Regions from separate parts of the Homo sapiens genome. Here regions 2 and 3 are each linked to region 1. The links are contacts of gene promoters, found by promoter capture Hi-C in blood cells and fetal thymus (Javierre and others, 2016). All regions are on one chromosome and are shown on one strand. The core of a region is centred on a gene start or on the middle of the fragment in contact, and the rest is flanking DNA. Distances in the headings are between cores, read along the strand shown. Region 1 holds the start of FGB (fibrinogen beta chain). Region 2 has its middle 26 kb from the start of MAP9. Region 3 has its middle 21 kb from the start of MAP9-AS1.

Region 1 (4,974 bases), core at 1,431-3,930:
TCCATCAACTGGCTGGTTGGTGATAGTGAATCTGTAGGTTGCTTACTGTTCAGTAACAGTAGAAAGACCAACTGCACAAAAAAGCTATGATGCAGTGTAGTTTTTAAAGAGAGGCCTTAGGATAAAGCTGTATCAGATTATGAATAGTAATGACCTCATATTCCTAAAACATACATTGGAACTTACGAAATTGTAAAGAATCTATACTGTCAAGAAGAATGAATATTCTCAAGCCACTTGGATTGTTAGATTCCTATGATTATTGTTAATCATTTCCCTACTTTCATTTTTGTGAATTGGTGATTAGACTCCTATATAAACATATTTAAGAGACATTAAAGACTTATTAAAGGTTGATTCTACTTGGAATTTATTTGTAATAAGACAATCTTTGACCCTCATAATGTACTCTGGAGCTCGGCTACTTGTAGGTCTTGACCGTAGGGTTGACTTACAGCTATGAGACCTTGGGCAAGTTGCTTTATCTGTGCCCCAGTTTTCTCATCTGTAAAATAAGTGTAATGATAGTTTGAATCTGCCTTACAAGATTATTGTAAGGATTAAATAACTTATTGCATATGGTACCCTCAGAACAGTACTTGGCAATAATAAGTGCTCATTACTATTTTTACTGGAATCACACATAACAAGTACTACAGTTTAAGTGTCCTCTCCACTTCGAATTTCACTTTTAGTCTTATCTTCTATCAACAAAATTATTTGTTAAACCATTATCTTGAAATTTCTTACATGATTTCTTTATCAAACATTATGATTTTCTTATATTTAAAATAATTCTCAAGGCTTGTGCATTGTAATTAAAATTACTTGCTAACTTAAAATATTATATTAAAGGATAATGAAGCAGAAAATACGCATTGCAATAGGAAAGTTTTGATTTGGATTAACTACATTCTCATTTTTTTTTTTGTCAGTAGCTATACATCCTTTGGAGCTTAATTACAAATTAACAAACGACATGATTTGGAACAACTGAGCAACAACTGAGCTCTCTTGCAATTTTGTGAGTCTAGAAGTCATCAGATGAACTCTATTTGGAATTGCATTGTCATTTATTCATTAGATTATAATATTATTTAACATTTAGTAGGATGGTGCTAAGATTAAAACCCAGCCAGGCTGGTTCCAGATTTTCCTGTTTAACCAGTTGACTATATACATTCTTAATATGTAAAGATTCGGAGGATATATACATATTTCACATTGAAGTCATGGTCCTAGTCAGAGCTTACCCTCTCTAAAACAAATTTTAAGAAATGTGATTCATCTGCTTATTACAAATACAATTATAACAGAGAAAACTATTTTCTTTTTATTTCAGAGTGCCACTAGAGAGGTAGCATGGATGGTCTGGCTTTACTAGAGAAAAGGAAATTTTAAAAAATATTTAAAGAAAGTATATACTTAAAGAAAAACACTTAAAGAAATTATGAAGGCCACTTGTTGAATAATCAAAATCCATTTTAAAGCCTAAACTATTAAACTATCTCTGTGAGGTTTAGTTGATAAGCAGAAATGTGAAAGTGCTTTGCAGAGTACTTTACAAAAATTTCGTCTTACACATTCTTTACATTTTTCTTACCTAATATGATTAACCAGACTTAACCAGATTAACCATATGTTTTTACACACACAACCAGATTAACTATATGTTCTTACATGTAGAGTCTGATAAGTACAACACTCAAGTTCCCTTGAAACTCAATAATGATCCGAAATGAATCACTTCATTTAAATATTATTGTGTATTCTTATTTCTAGTTTAATGATACTATGCTATATGTAAGAAATTTGGCCATGATACGTTTGATGATAAAATTTAAATTTCTTAAATATCCATTGTCCTAAATGCATTTCTGTATTTTTAGTAACTGCAAATTAACAGCAATAAGTCAGCAAAAATAATAGTTGAGGACAAACTGTTCTACAAATAAATAAATTAGACTGAACCGTGTTTCATAACTATTAATAATAACAATACACACTAACTCTAATTTGAACTTTTCATCTGAAAAAAGCAATATTTCATTTTCTATCATTACACTTGATGTATTTTGCTTTTAGGCTTAGTTATAATTTTTATAAATAGTAATCTCAGTAACAATATATATTACCTTCCTTCACCAAAGAACAATCTACCTACCACCAGTTTCTTTTATCTTAAAATTCTGCTCTTTTATTATTTTATAGTTTGTGAGATTTTCAGATCTTGTCCTCTTAATTGTAATCCTGTATTGCTAGAAGTAAATGAAAATCACAGTACTCAGAATAGCAAGTGAGAAAAACACATCTTACATTAGCTAAGCCATCCTCATCTTAAGAAAACAAAGGTGATAAACTAGAAAACAAGAAATTACTTTGTTTTTATATAAGAAATACTATGAAACATTCTTTAAATACAATAAGTCAGAGGTTAACAATTCCATTTCATAACTATAAGCAATGCTAATTTCATTAAAATAAGCACATAATATGATTATGTTACATCTTATATTAATAATACTACTAATAATATAATAATGCTTTAAAAAATTCACCTCCTCATTGTCGTTGACACCTTGGGACTTAACTAGAAAAACACACAATAGTAGCAATAATAGATGTTTCATGGTTTTAAGTTTGTGGAAGCTCCAAGAAACCATCCTTTTCATGTAGACTTAACTGAGAGATCTTCAATCCTATATATATCTGAGTCCTCTGCTAGGAATGACTTCAGAAATGGTTACCTTTCCTTAGTTAATATTTAATTTTTGGTTCACTTGTTGGCTGAACCATTTTATCATTTAAGCAACATCTTCCCAGCAAAGCTTATTTACTTGTCATACAACTATTATTCTTTGTTGGTCTAGTTTAGAAACATTAAATTTCTTCAATTCATTTAATTGGACAAAATGATGGGAAGTTAGGGCACTCCTCAAAGAGAGATGTGTATCTTGTTTCTGGTAAATTAATGTGGAAACTACACAAGCTCCGAAAGAATATGTGAGAAAACAAATCTAAGCTTAGTAAATTTGACCTACTCACAAGGCAACCACTAAAATCGTGACTCATTAATGATATACCATAAATGCTTATGTTTTCTGACAATGACATAATTCTATTTCAAAAGGGGCCATTAAAATCAATAGTAATGTTATATCATAATGTGTTTATCTTTTGTTTTAGACATTAATCAAAATAACAAAATAACAAATTCATACCCTATTCTATGAAAAATACACATCAGAAAGACCCTTTTTTTGTGCTGAATAGCTTTAATATTTTGTCCTTAATTCACATAAGGTAAAATGTTCAACAAATTCTAAACATTATTAAGATAACTAATAAATTATAGATTTCTGAATCAAAATTATGATGATGATTAAATACATGTTTAACATTCTATTTTATTGTTATATAGTTTATATCATATGATTTATAAAAACAATGTTATTTTAACACTGGTGAAGTCTTCATACATCTATTTCAATTAGTATGCTCACAGACTAAATGAGGCCCATTTTCCTTCATTTCCCACAAGCCACAAAATTTATCTCTCTTGTCTGTTCACTTGTGTGTTGCAATCAGGATTAATAACTCCTACAAGAATCAATAGGAACACCAGTCAGTAATCCAAATCCCAGTAAGTGCATTGATTCAAAGCATTTTTCTGTTTTTTGTATGGAAAGTGAAACATTCTCATTAAATTTATAAATTATTTTATTAAAAAGATGGCAGGTTATCAGGGTTTGGATCAGCGTATTGAAACAATGCTTTGAAACAGAGTCTTGAGAATGGTGTGGGACCCACGACATTTCTTTCTTCTCCAGGTAGCAGAGATTGCATTCCCAAATTCTTTTAACTCAGATTCCTAGAAACAAATTATTCTCTTGGTAGCATAGGTTGTCCTCCCAAATTCTTTTAACTTAGCTTAATAGAGACAAAGTACTCAGTTTAAATTAAGAAAAAATATTCACTTGAGTCTTTCCAAATTTGTGTTCCCTTTATTAGCAATGAGTAAATATTATATTTTAAGATTTTTTTCTTTAGCTTTAATGGTTTTTAAAGGGATACATGATCTGACAGAAAAAGCAAATATCTATGTGGCTATTAATTAAAATATATACAGGAATATTTTCCATGAAAATATAACTGATAACAAAGTTTATTTTAATAATCTAGACAGGATTTTATTTTAGTGACGTACAGATTCTTACAGATTTAAAAAGAATTATCTGTTAAGAAAACTCTAACCTTTTTTTTTTCTTTTGAGGTAACGTATTACTACATTTTCAATGACTGATGTTTGATCAACTAACAATAGAATCATCATTTAACTTTCAGAAGTCTGTAAATTTGTAAAGTTTTTTCTAGTATATAATAGACTCTTGTTCAACACTAAAGTGAAGGTTCCTTTACTTTCCTACTTTGTTCTACTCTGATTGGCATTCTTCCCATGGTCAGAAGGAGGATGGATTCAATCCAGCATGCATGCACCATAACAGCACAGACTTAACATTCATCTTACAAATAGTTCTTGAGAGTCTCCTCAGTGACGGGTAGTGTGATAGGGGCTGGGAATGCATTGGTGAGCAAGACAGACATAGTAGGCGTTCAATACATAATTACGGGATGAATGAGTGAACTGGCTGTCATTGGTACATGCCTCAGATGCCAAATTATGGTAGTCATTTATCGTATTTAATTCTTGAAACCACTATGTTCTACAGATGGTGAAACAGGTTCAGAGAGGTTAAGTAAACTACCCCAGAGTGTATAGGTAGTAGGTGCTGGTATGAGGACTTGACCCCTGACTGTCTGACTCTACAGTCCACACTCTGTGCCCATTACATTATATTTCCCAACAGGATACAAACATTATAAAAATTTACCTCTACCTTCTTTTTGTGTGTTTGTTCTTTTGGAGTATTTTGGCCAGCCTGTCATCTTGGGACCATAATGTATCAGGCTGAC
Region 2 (4,974 bases), core at 1,819-4,318, 840 kb before region 1:
GAAATATAAACCCTCTCAAAAAAAATTTGTACTATCTATACCTTTTCAGATATTACAGATTTTTTTCTCAACACCTACCAATCTCAGACACATATCACTCCAAGTTTTAAAACAAAACAGAAAACATTAAAATAAAAAAAAAAAACAGAAAGAAGCAGATTTGCTGTTAGATAATAGGGAAAATTTGTCTTATCTAACAGATATAATATTGACTTTTCAAAAGAAAATATTCGTGGGCTTTAATCACAAAGAGAAGGAGACGTAATATATAATGCAGGAAAAATAAGTTTGTACAAAATTTTTACAGGGCACATTCTTTGTTCTTTGTCCATACTAGAAAAAATTAGTTGGCTATGAGTTGCAAAGAACATGCTGTTATAAAACGAAAAGTTGACATCTGGATCCAGCCCAAAGAATAAAAGCATCACCCTATAATATTTACTTAAGAATCACAGAAGTTCATTTTAAGGTTAAGAAACTTGCATAATAGAAAATTTTTATCAAAGTTTACTCAAGTTTGGCTACAGTGTATGTATATAAAATGCCTAAAATGGAGTACGTGATTGGGCAATGTAGTGCCTTTGAAGTTACATATTTAGTAATGCCTTAGCATTATTGCCTGTTTTAAATATAAAGAGCTTTCATGTTAGTTCCTGTGACCTAATGAATTTCCTCAAGAGTACTTTATTAAATCGTATCTTCCTAATGCTAGGAATAATAGCTACAGGAATAAATTAAATTTAAAATGATTTATTTTTGCCCACAAAAGAGCATTTCCCAGTTACACTTAAATAATGTCTTTTTTCTTTAATGTTTCACTTTGAAAACAAAATAAAATAACATTTTACTTTTATGTTTTTATTTCATATCTAGTTTTTACTTTGAGACAATAGATGAAAGGATGTTTAAAGGAGACAGTAAGTAGAGTTGCATAAAATAAAATGAGAATAAAATTTGGGAAATAAAATTCCATCTTCTAAGCGTGAAATAAGGGTATCTAATGAGTAAATTTAGGTAAAAAACCATTCTCATGATATTCACAGGAATGTATATTGTAAAGACTTTCCTGGAAGGCATTTTGGCAGGAAGGATAACTGCAGTTAATTTTCATATACTTTAACCTGATTATTCTACCTCTAGGATGTATTCTAAATAAACAACTACATGTACCACAAGGCTGCTCATGCAACCTGAAAACAACCATACTTATAAATATATACATAAAATTATATAACCATAAAATAATGCACAATTCAGTTTTTGATTAACATGGAAAGATTTTCAAATGGCAAGACCAGGTTATAGAATAATATATGTAATATGACCATTTTTGTGCATAGAGGATAAAAGTATGGGAAAGAACCCTAACTATGAACAATGATCCTGGTTGAGTTTGGGCGGGTGGGGAAAGGATTGGGAGGTGAGCAGCTTACATTAAGTCTTTTAAAAACATGGATTTAAACAATATTTTCTTGACACATTAAACTAGTAAATTTCTACTTTCTAATATAAAGAAAAAGCTAATCATTCAAAAAGCTTTATTAAATGATGTAAATAGCTTTGTTTCAATGTAACTTTTAATCACTATAAGCAAAATGAAGTATCTCAAGAATACTAATGATTACATTCATGTTTCCTCTGGATAGTAAATCCTTTGCTGCCATCTTCTGGAACTTGATTATTAACGTATACTCTGGGCTTCCCAGAAGAGACAAAAGAATAATTACATCCTTACATGAGCACAATGCTGACGCCAAATTAGCTGTATGCACGTGCTAAATCATTTCTTTTATTCTCATTAACCTACAGTCGGGCTCTGGACTTCCCTTGAGAATCCTGAATGGGATTATTTTTTTACAAAGAAATTCCCACTAAGTAATGCCTGGGCTTTCTTCAGTGCTGGATTTTAATTCCACAAAAACTCATAATCTTACAAATGCATATAATGATAACAGATAAAATAGAACAATTTGAATAAAGAGTAACGTGTAAATAAGTGATTAAAAAAACTTGAAACTATGTTTACCCTCCCCCCCCCTTTTTTTCAAACATTAGTTTGGGGCCCTTTATTTAGGAAATCTTAATCAGAAATCCAACATACAAACAAAGAGAACTGGGCATCCACTTGTATCCTTCTTCAAAAAAGTGCCTAAAAGTATATTTGCATTCGTGTGTGAAACTAGATTTGTCTTAAAGGGATCATGTACAAAGCAGGAAGGAGCCAAGCAATTCCAGAAAGGTGGATGAACAGAGGAGCTACACATGGGAGAAATGATGCAAAAAGACAGTGTGTGCTAATCGATCAGGAAAGAAGGAAAGCACTGGGTTAATTTCTTACATAACAATAATGTGGTTTTATATATGTGAGATGCCATTAAAAGTAAAGATTCCTTAAAACTTCAGTGATACAATAGAGGCTATATAATCAATCTTGTCTGGGACATTTCCAGGAAAAAGCAATGTTCTTTCAAACCTATCTGGGTCTTAAGATGTGACTGTACTGTGCGCTTTCCCTTCACCACTCACGTCTGGAAAGATAATGAACTCCCTCAGCCCCACTTCCTTATCTCCCATTCACTTGCAGACTTAATCAGTCATGCTTCAGCTTTCTTCTCTCCCAGTTGAAGCTGGTGAATGTTTAACTCTTGGGATGGGGAAGGATGTGAGAAGGGAACACCCTGATTTGTAGCATTGTAGCATTTGCTGATTTCAAGTAATTCCACCATCACTGATCTAAAGCTGATGTCATTGAATGCAGAGCTGGGCTTGGATGTGCACAAGAGACTCTCCTGAGTAGGTATGAGCTCCAGTGCACAAGGGCCTCTGCTGAGTAGGTGTGAGATCCAGCACACCTCTCTCTAATCCCTCTATTGAAACTGCTCTTACCTAGGCATGGTACAGATCCCAGTGACCTCCTAAGGAAAAATCTAGTTTGCTTCTCTACTTGACTAACAGGCAGCATGAGCCACTCCCTTATTGGTGAGCCATTCTCCTCTTTGGTTCTCTTCCTATTTCCCTGGCAATTTCTTGCCTTTCTGTGCTACGTACAACCTCTGCCCATAACTTGATAGATGCTTCCTAGGGTCCTATCCTCTGCTCCCTTCTGTATTCACTCCCCTTATAATCTCAGCCCCTCAACCACTCCCATATATCACAGGCACCTCCAACTCAGGGAGTCCCAGTCTGACATCATGCTGTCCCCTCTTCCTTTTTTACCTGCACCCGGCACACACTTCAATCGTACTATTTACCATAGTTTAAAAATGTATCTATTCCTCTCTATATTCACTGATATTGCCTAATTTCATCTGCATGTCATATCTCTCCTGAGCAAATGCCACAGCTTTTTGGGTGATTTTTTTTTGTCTACCCTCCTTTCAAATTCTTCTCCCCACAACCACCATTCATCTTCCAACTCAACTGTCAAAATTACACTTCTTTGGCACAGTCTAATTACATTTCCTGCTTTCTCCCATTTTTTCTCTAGGTTAAAATATTAATTGCACAGGCCATAATCAATCCTGCTTCCCTGCCATGTGTAGGAGGCACCAACAGAAATACAACTTATTAACATAAAGTTGTATGTTTTTCCCATTCTGAGCACCAGAATCTTGACTGAAAAAGTCAGGTATATGAAAATATAGTGTAGGGGTTATATGAATATCTGATTGCTGCCATAGTCATTTACTGTCTTACAACACCATCTCCAGACAGTTCTAGAGACCACAAGTCTGAAATGCATGAGCAGGGATGCACTCCTTCTAGAGGCTTTAGGGGAGAATCCGTTCCCTGCTCCTTCCTAGCTTCTAAGGGCCATGACCCTGCATCACCCCAACTTCTGCTTCCATCGTGGTCACACCTCCTCTCTGATTCTTACCCTCTTGTACTCCAATTGTATGGACCCCTGTGACTACACTGGGCCCACTCTGATAATCCATAATCTCCCCATTTTGAGATCTTTAATTTAATCACACCTGCAAAGTCTCTTTTGAAATGCAAGTTAACACATTCACAGGTTCTGGGAATTAGAACATGGACTTTTCTGAGAGTTAACTACAGGGGTTAGTTAAGAACGCTGGCTCTGGGTCCAATCCTGGTTCAATTAATTAAAAGCTACTTGCCTGGATTTGAGTGATCTGTCAGCCACAAGTTTACAGAACTGCCCCTTAGAGGTGGAGAAACTTTTTTTTTTGTTTTTAAGAGACAGAGTCTGGCTCTGTTGCCCAGGTTGCAGTGCAGGGGTGCAATCAAAGCTCACTGCAGCCTCAGACTCCTGGGCTCAAGCAATCCTCCTGCCTCAGCCTCCAAAGTAGCTAGAACTACAGATGCATGCCACCACATCTGACTAATTTGTAAATTTTTTGTGGCAACGATGTCTTGCTATGTAGCTTAGACTGGTCTCAAACTCCTGGCCTTGGCCTCACCCTCCCAAAAATGCCAGGATTACAGACACGAACCATGGCAACTGGCCAAAATAAGGATTCTTAAATAATCCCTTCATTCATCCTTTTAACACTCAGTAAGCATTCATTAAGTGCCGTTTACATGGCAGGCCCTATTCTAGGCTCTGGAAAAGAGTAGTGAACTAAATAAAGCTTCTTACCCTTAGAGAATTTATATTGTGGTGAGAGAAAACAGACAAATAGATAAACAGAATGCACAGTGTATCAAGTGCTATCAAGTGGCATGTCATTGAAGAGAAGGGAGACAGGGAATATGGCCTTTACAACTTTGAATGGAGCTATTTTAGAGAGTGGGGTTGTCAGCTCTGTCTCTGAATTGCTCTATGAACTTGGGCAAGTTTTATATGGCCTTGGGCAAATCTCCTAATCTGGTAGCACAGCTTCTTATGTGCAAGATGGTGATAATGTTTTATGAGGATGAACAGATTATATAATACAAAGTGATCATCATAAAATAAGCACTCAGCATATTTATTTATTTATTCGATAAATACTTACTATGTATTTACTT
Region 3 (4,974 bases), core at 1,184-3,683, 770 kb before region 1:
CGGTAACTCATGCCTGTAATCTCAGCATTTTGGGAGGCTGACGCAGATGGATCACTTGAAGTCAGAAGTTCAACAACAGCCTGGCCAGTATCCTGAAACCCCTTCTCTACTAAAAATATAAAAAAATCAGCTGGGCGTGGTGGCATGCACCTGTAGTCCCAGCTACTCGGGAGGCTGGGGCAGGAGAATCATTTGAACCTGGGAGGCAGAGGTTGCAGTGAGCTGAGATCGCACCACTGCACTCCAGCCTGGGTCTCGCAGCGAGACTCCACCTTAAAAAAAAACAAAAAAGAAGAAGAAGAAAGAGAAAAAAGAAAAGGGGTCCCAGACTGAACCCTAGGGTAACCCAACATTTTGAGGTCAGAAGGATGAAGGGACTCAACACCTGAAACTGAGAAAGAAAAGCCAGTGTGGTTAGAGAAAATCCAGGAGAGGTGCATTCCTTGGAAAGCAATGAAATAAAGTGCTTCAAGAAAGAGAATGACCAAGTAATCAGAAGACTGATGATTGACTTATTTGGTAATATGGAAGTCAGTGTTGACCTAAGAAATTAAGATTTCAACAGAGTGATGGGGATGAAGACCTGGTTAGTGTTTTCAAGAAAAAGAAGGGAGAGAGGCAATCAGAATCTAAGTATAGGCCACTTTTCGATAAGCTTTGCTAACAAGGAACAAAGAAAATTGGAGAGGGAATCATAGATGAAGGGGATATGGGGTCAAGGCTGGCTTTATTTGTTTTTAAGATAGAAGAATTTATAACTTATTTGCAACAATCATTTAATAAAAAATGAAATGGAATTATGCTTCCTATGCTTTTACAGGCAGCAGATATGGTAGCATTGCAGAAATCAACTAATTTAGGTGAAAATTATGTGTGCCATGCTGACAATAATGTTAGTATTTTCCCCTTTAGCAAGCACAATATAATAAGGAAACCATAATATTGAGTTATAAAGTTGAAATGCAATGTCTGTATATCATGCAGACTACTTGATATCTATTAAGGTCCTTTCAGGACAATGGTATAAATTTCTGCTCTTGCTAAAAAAATATTGACCAGCTGTAAAAGTTGGCAATAATTAATGTTTGTTTGGAATATTTACAAACAAAAAATTCAAGGCTTTGGATAAATTTCCCTAAGTAACAAATATGTTTATATGAAAATTCATTAAAATAATTATAATTTACTATAAATGAACAAGTAATCACAGAAAATATATTATGCAAATATACTTACACATAATAATTTTTAAATTGAAGAAAATACTTACAAGGAAAATAAATAGAAAATATAAATACTCCAGATATATATATATAGTACATTAAAATTTTCAGCTTAGATTGAATGTCTCATTTAAAACTACCCCCATACTAAGAAAAGAAAACAATGACCTTCAAATAAATTATAATTATTACCATCCATGAGTCATGACAGCAAGTGAAATCTGTCATAAATATATAAAAGCAGCTTCAAGGTGTTTTTCACAGGGCAAAAGTATATGTTTTATTAATGAGTCATATAGCAGAGTTGCTTATTTAGAAATTCCCAATAAGATGAGAAAACAAGTCGATGTGTTCTTCATTGTACTTAAACACTCAAACTAAACAAGACTATTACCTGTTTTAATTTAATTAAAAATTAAAACTAGGCCCTGTTTGTCCATTTTTGTTTGTGTTACAATTGCTTTTGGTGACTTTGTCATAAATTTTTTGCCAAGGCTGATGTCCAAAATGGTGTTTCTAGGTTTTCTTCTATGAAACTTTTATAGTTTTAGGTCTTACATCTTTAGTCCATCTTGAGTTACTTTTTTAACATGGTGAAAGAAAGGGGTCCAGTTTCAATCTTCTGCATATGGCTAGCCAGTTATACCAGCACCATTCACTGAATAGGGAGTCCCCTCCCCATTGCTTGTTATTGTCGACTTTGTCAAAGATCAGATGGTTGTAGGTGTGTGGCTTTGTTTCTGGATTCCCTATTCTGTTCCATTGATCTGTGTATTTGTTTTTGTGTCAGTATCATGCTGTATTGGTTACTGTAGCCTTTTAGTGTAGGTTGAAGTCAGTAGTGTGATGCTTCTGGCTTTGTTCTTTTTGCTTAGGATTGCTTTGGCTATTCAGACTCTTTTTTGATTCCATATGAATTTTATAATATTATTTTCTAATTCTGTGAAAAATGACATTGGTGGTTTGATAAGAATAGCACCAAGTCTATAAATTGCTTTGGGCAGTATGGCCATTTTAACAATATTGATTCTTTCTATCTATGAGCATGACCTAATTAAACTAAAGAGCTTCTACACAGCAAAAGAAATTATCGATAGAGTAAACACACTTACAGAATGGGAGAAAATATTTGCGAACAATGCATCTGACAAAGGTCTAATATCCAGAATCTCTAAGGCACTTAAACAATTCAACAAGCAAACAACAAACAACTCCATCCAAAAATGGGCAAAAGACATGAACAGACTCTTCTCAAAAGAAGACATACATGCAACCAACAAATACATGAGAAAATGCTTTACATCACTAATCATTAGAGAAATACAAATCAAAACAACGAGATACCATCTCGCATCAGTCAGAATGGCTATTATTAAAAAAAAAAAGTCAAAAAATAACAGATGTTGGTGAGGTTGTGGAAAAAAGGGAACACATACTCTGGTGGTGGGAGTGCAAATTAGTTTAGCCACTGTGGAAAGCAGTGTGATTTCCCATAGAACTTAAAATAAAACTATCATTTGACCCAGCAATCCCATTACTGGGTATATAACCAGAGGAAAATAAATCATTCTACCAAAAAGATACCTGCATTTGTCTATTCATTGCAGCACTATTCGCAATAGCAAAGACATGAAATCAACCTAGATGCCCATCAATGGTGGTTAAAGAAAATGTGGTACACATACACTATGAAATACTATGTGGCCATAAAAAGAAATAAAATTATGTACTTTAGAGCCGGGCGCAGTGGCTCACACCTGTAATCCCAGCACTTTGGAAGGCCCAGGCGGGTGGATCACGAGGTCAGATTGACAGCATCCTGGCTAATAAGGTGAAACCCCGTCTCTAATAAAAATACAAAAAATTAGCCGGGCATGGTGGCATGCGCCTATAGTCCCAGCTACTCAGGAGGCTGAGGCAGGAGAATCACTTGAACCTGGGAGGCAGAGGTTGCAGTGAGCCAAGATTGCACCACTGCACTCCAGCCTAGGTGACAGAGTGAGACTCTGTCTCCAACAATAACAACAACAGTAACAACAACAAAAATTAACTAGTTTACAGCAACGTGGATGCAGCTGAAGGCCATTACCCTAAATGAATTAACACAGGAACAGAAAGCCAAATACTGCATATTCTCACTTATAAGGGGGAGCTAAACATCGGGTAAACATGGACATAAAGATGACAACAATAGACACCGGGGACTTCTAGAGGAGAATGGAGAGAAGAAGATGTGGTTTGAAAAACTACCTATCAAGTACTAAGCTCAAGACTTGGGTGATGGGATAATTCATACACCAAACCCTATGTGCAGGTTTGTTGCAATTTACCCATGCAACAAACCTGCACATGTACCCACTGTACCTAAAAGAAAAGTTGAAAAAGAAAATGAAAACATTAAAACGTGATTAAATATATAGTATATTAGAGACTTTAAGGATTTAACCCAAATAATTTCAAATATACTTTCCCTTTTCCTTTCAAGTTATTTTAAAAGTTAACAGATAAAATGTTTTTATGTCTCTGTCTCATCATGTGGTGAACAAAAACAAAGAAAGCCCGTGAACAGAGAGCAGGGTTTTCAGATGTCAAGTGGCTTTCCATGTGGAAGCAGAAGTTATAAGCATGTGACAACCTATAGCCTTTTCAGAGCTATAATTATTTCTGTTAACTTTTGGAATTTAGTAAAAACACAGTCCCTTCTGACCTTTTCTGGGTTTTTTGATATCAGCTGTATAGACAAATAGCCTGAACTAAAAATCAGTCAGGTTAGAGTTCATTGTTACCACTATAAGTTACAGACATTGTCAGTTACTTAGCCAATAGCCATTCCTCAATTCTTCTTTGATAACAGAACCATAGTTATGTCTAGAGCAATAAGGTGCCCAGTCAAATGCTGACTTTGCATCTTTTCTGTGGCTATTGGTGACCAGATGACACAATTCTGCCAGTGCAACTTGAGTTGTCTTCTAAGTTTAAGTAAGCTTTGAATTTCCTAATAAAAGGACAGATACAGTGAGGTTTTCTACCTTCTTTTTGCCTTGTACATAGACATGATGGTAGGAACCACAGCAGTCATATGGTAATAATGAGGGAAAAGCAAGGGAATTCCAGATATATTGACTGCTGAAATAAAGCAACAACTGCTATTTCTGGACCTACATTCTTATAATAAAAATAAACAACTAGGTTTTAAAGCTGCTGGCAACTGGTGTTCTATTACGAGGAACCAAAGAAAATTCTGAATGACACACTCTTATTCTATTCATACACTCAGCAAAAACTTGAAACTGGTGTTCCATAATGTATACACCATTTGGATTCAGCAGTGTATTAGTCAAGGTAACTCTAGTTACTACAATAGGCAACGTTCCAAATTTCAATGGCCTTAATGCAATAGAAGTATATTTTTCAAGTACTTAAAACTCTAGGAAACAAAACCAAGGGTGGAGATGGTGGTAGTGGTAGCACTCAGTTCCTGCAGTCAGATTTGAGCCCTGCCATTCTTTTTTTTTTTTTTTAAGAGATTACAGGGATACAGATGCAATTGTGTTACATGAACATATTGCATGCAGTAAAGTCTAGGCTTTTCGTGGAATCTTCACCTGAATAGTGTACATTATGCCTATTAGGTAATTTCTCATCCCTCACCCTTCTGCCATCCCTCCACCTTTCTGAGTCTCCAATGATCAGAGCCTTGCCATTCTTTGGAAAATGACTCCCAACATTGAGCTGGCAGGGTGGAAACAGA

The links. Contacts are between HindIII fragments. The CHiCAGO score rates a contact against its expected background, and 5 or more counts as called.
Region 2: a fragment that was not itself captured here is called in contact with the fragment with the promoter of FGB in region 1 in 5 of 17 cell types (total B cells, naive CD4 T cells, total CD8 T cells and 2 more); the score reaches 6.0 in total B cells.
Region 3: a fragment that was not itself captured here is called in contact with the fragment with the promoter of FGB in region 1 in 3 of 17 cell types (naive CD8 T cells, monocytes and naive B cells); the score reaches 8.0 in naive CD8 T cells.

What each region holds. Positions count from the first base shown.
Region 1 is chr4:154,560,717-154,565,690 of GRCh38, reverse strand. FGB (fibrinogen beta chain) reads right to left here and starts at 2,680. Exons shown (of 8, transcript NM_005141.5): 1 at 2,559-2,680. The coding sequence starts at 2,672. The HindIII fragment of the contact is 2,847 bases long and covers 1-2,830 here.
Region 2 is chr4:155,400,763-155,405,736 of GRCh38, reverse strand. No RefSeq gene overlaps it. Among named protein-coding and RNA genes, the nearest start is that of MAP9, 26 kb to the right of the region's middle. The HindIII fragment of the contact is 3,059 bases long and covers 1,539-4,597 here.
Region 3 is chr4:155,330,824-155,335,797 of GRCh38, reverse strand. No RefSeq gene overlaps it. Among named protein-coding and RNA genes, the nearest start is that of MAP9-AS1, 21 kb to the left of the region's middle. The HindIII fragment of the contact is 3,552 bases long and covers 658-4,209 here.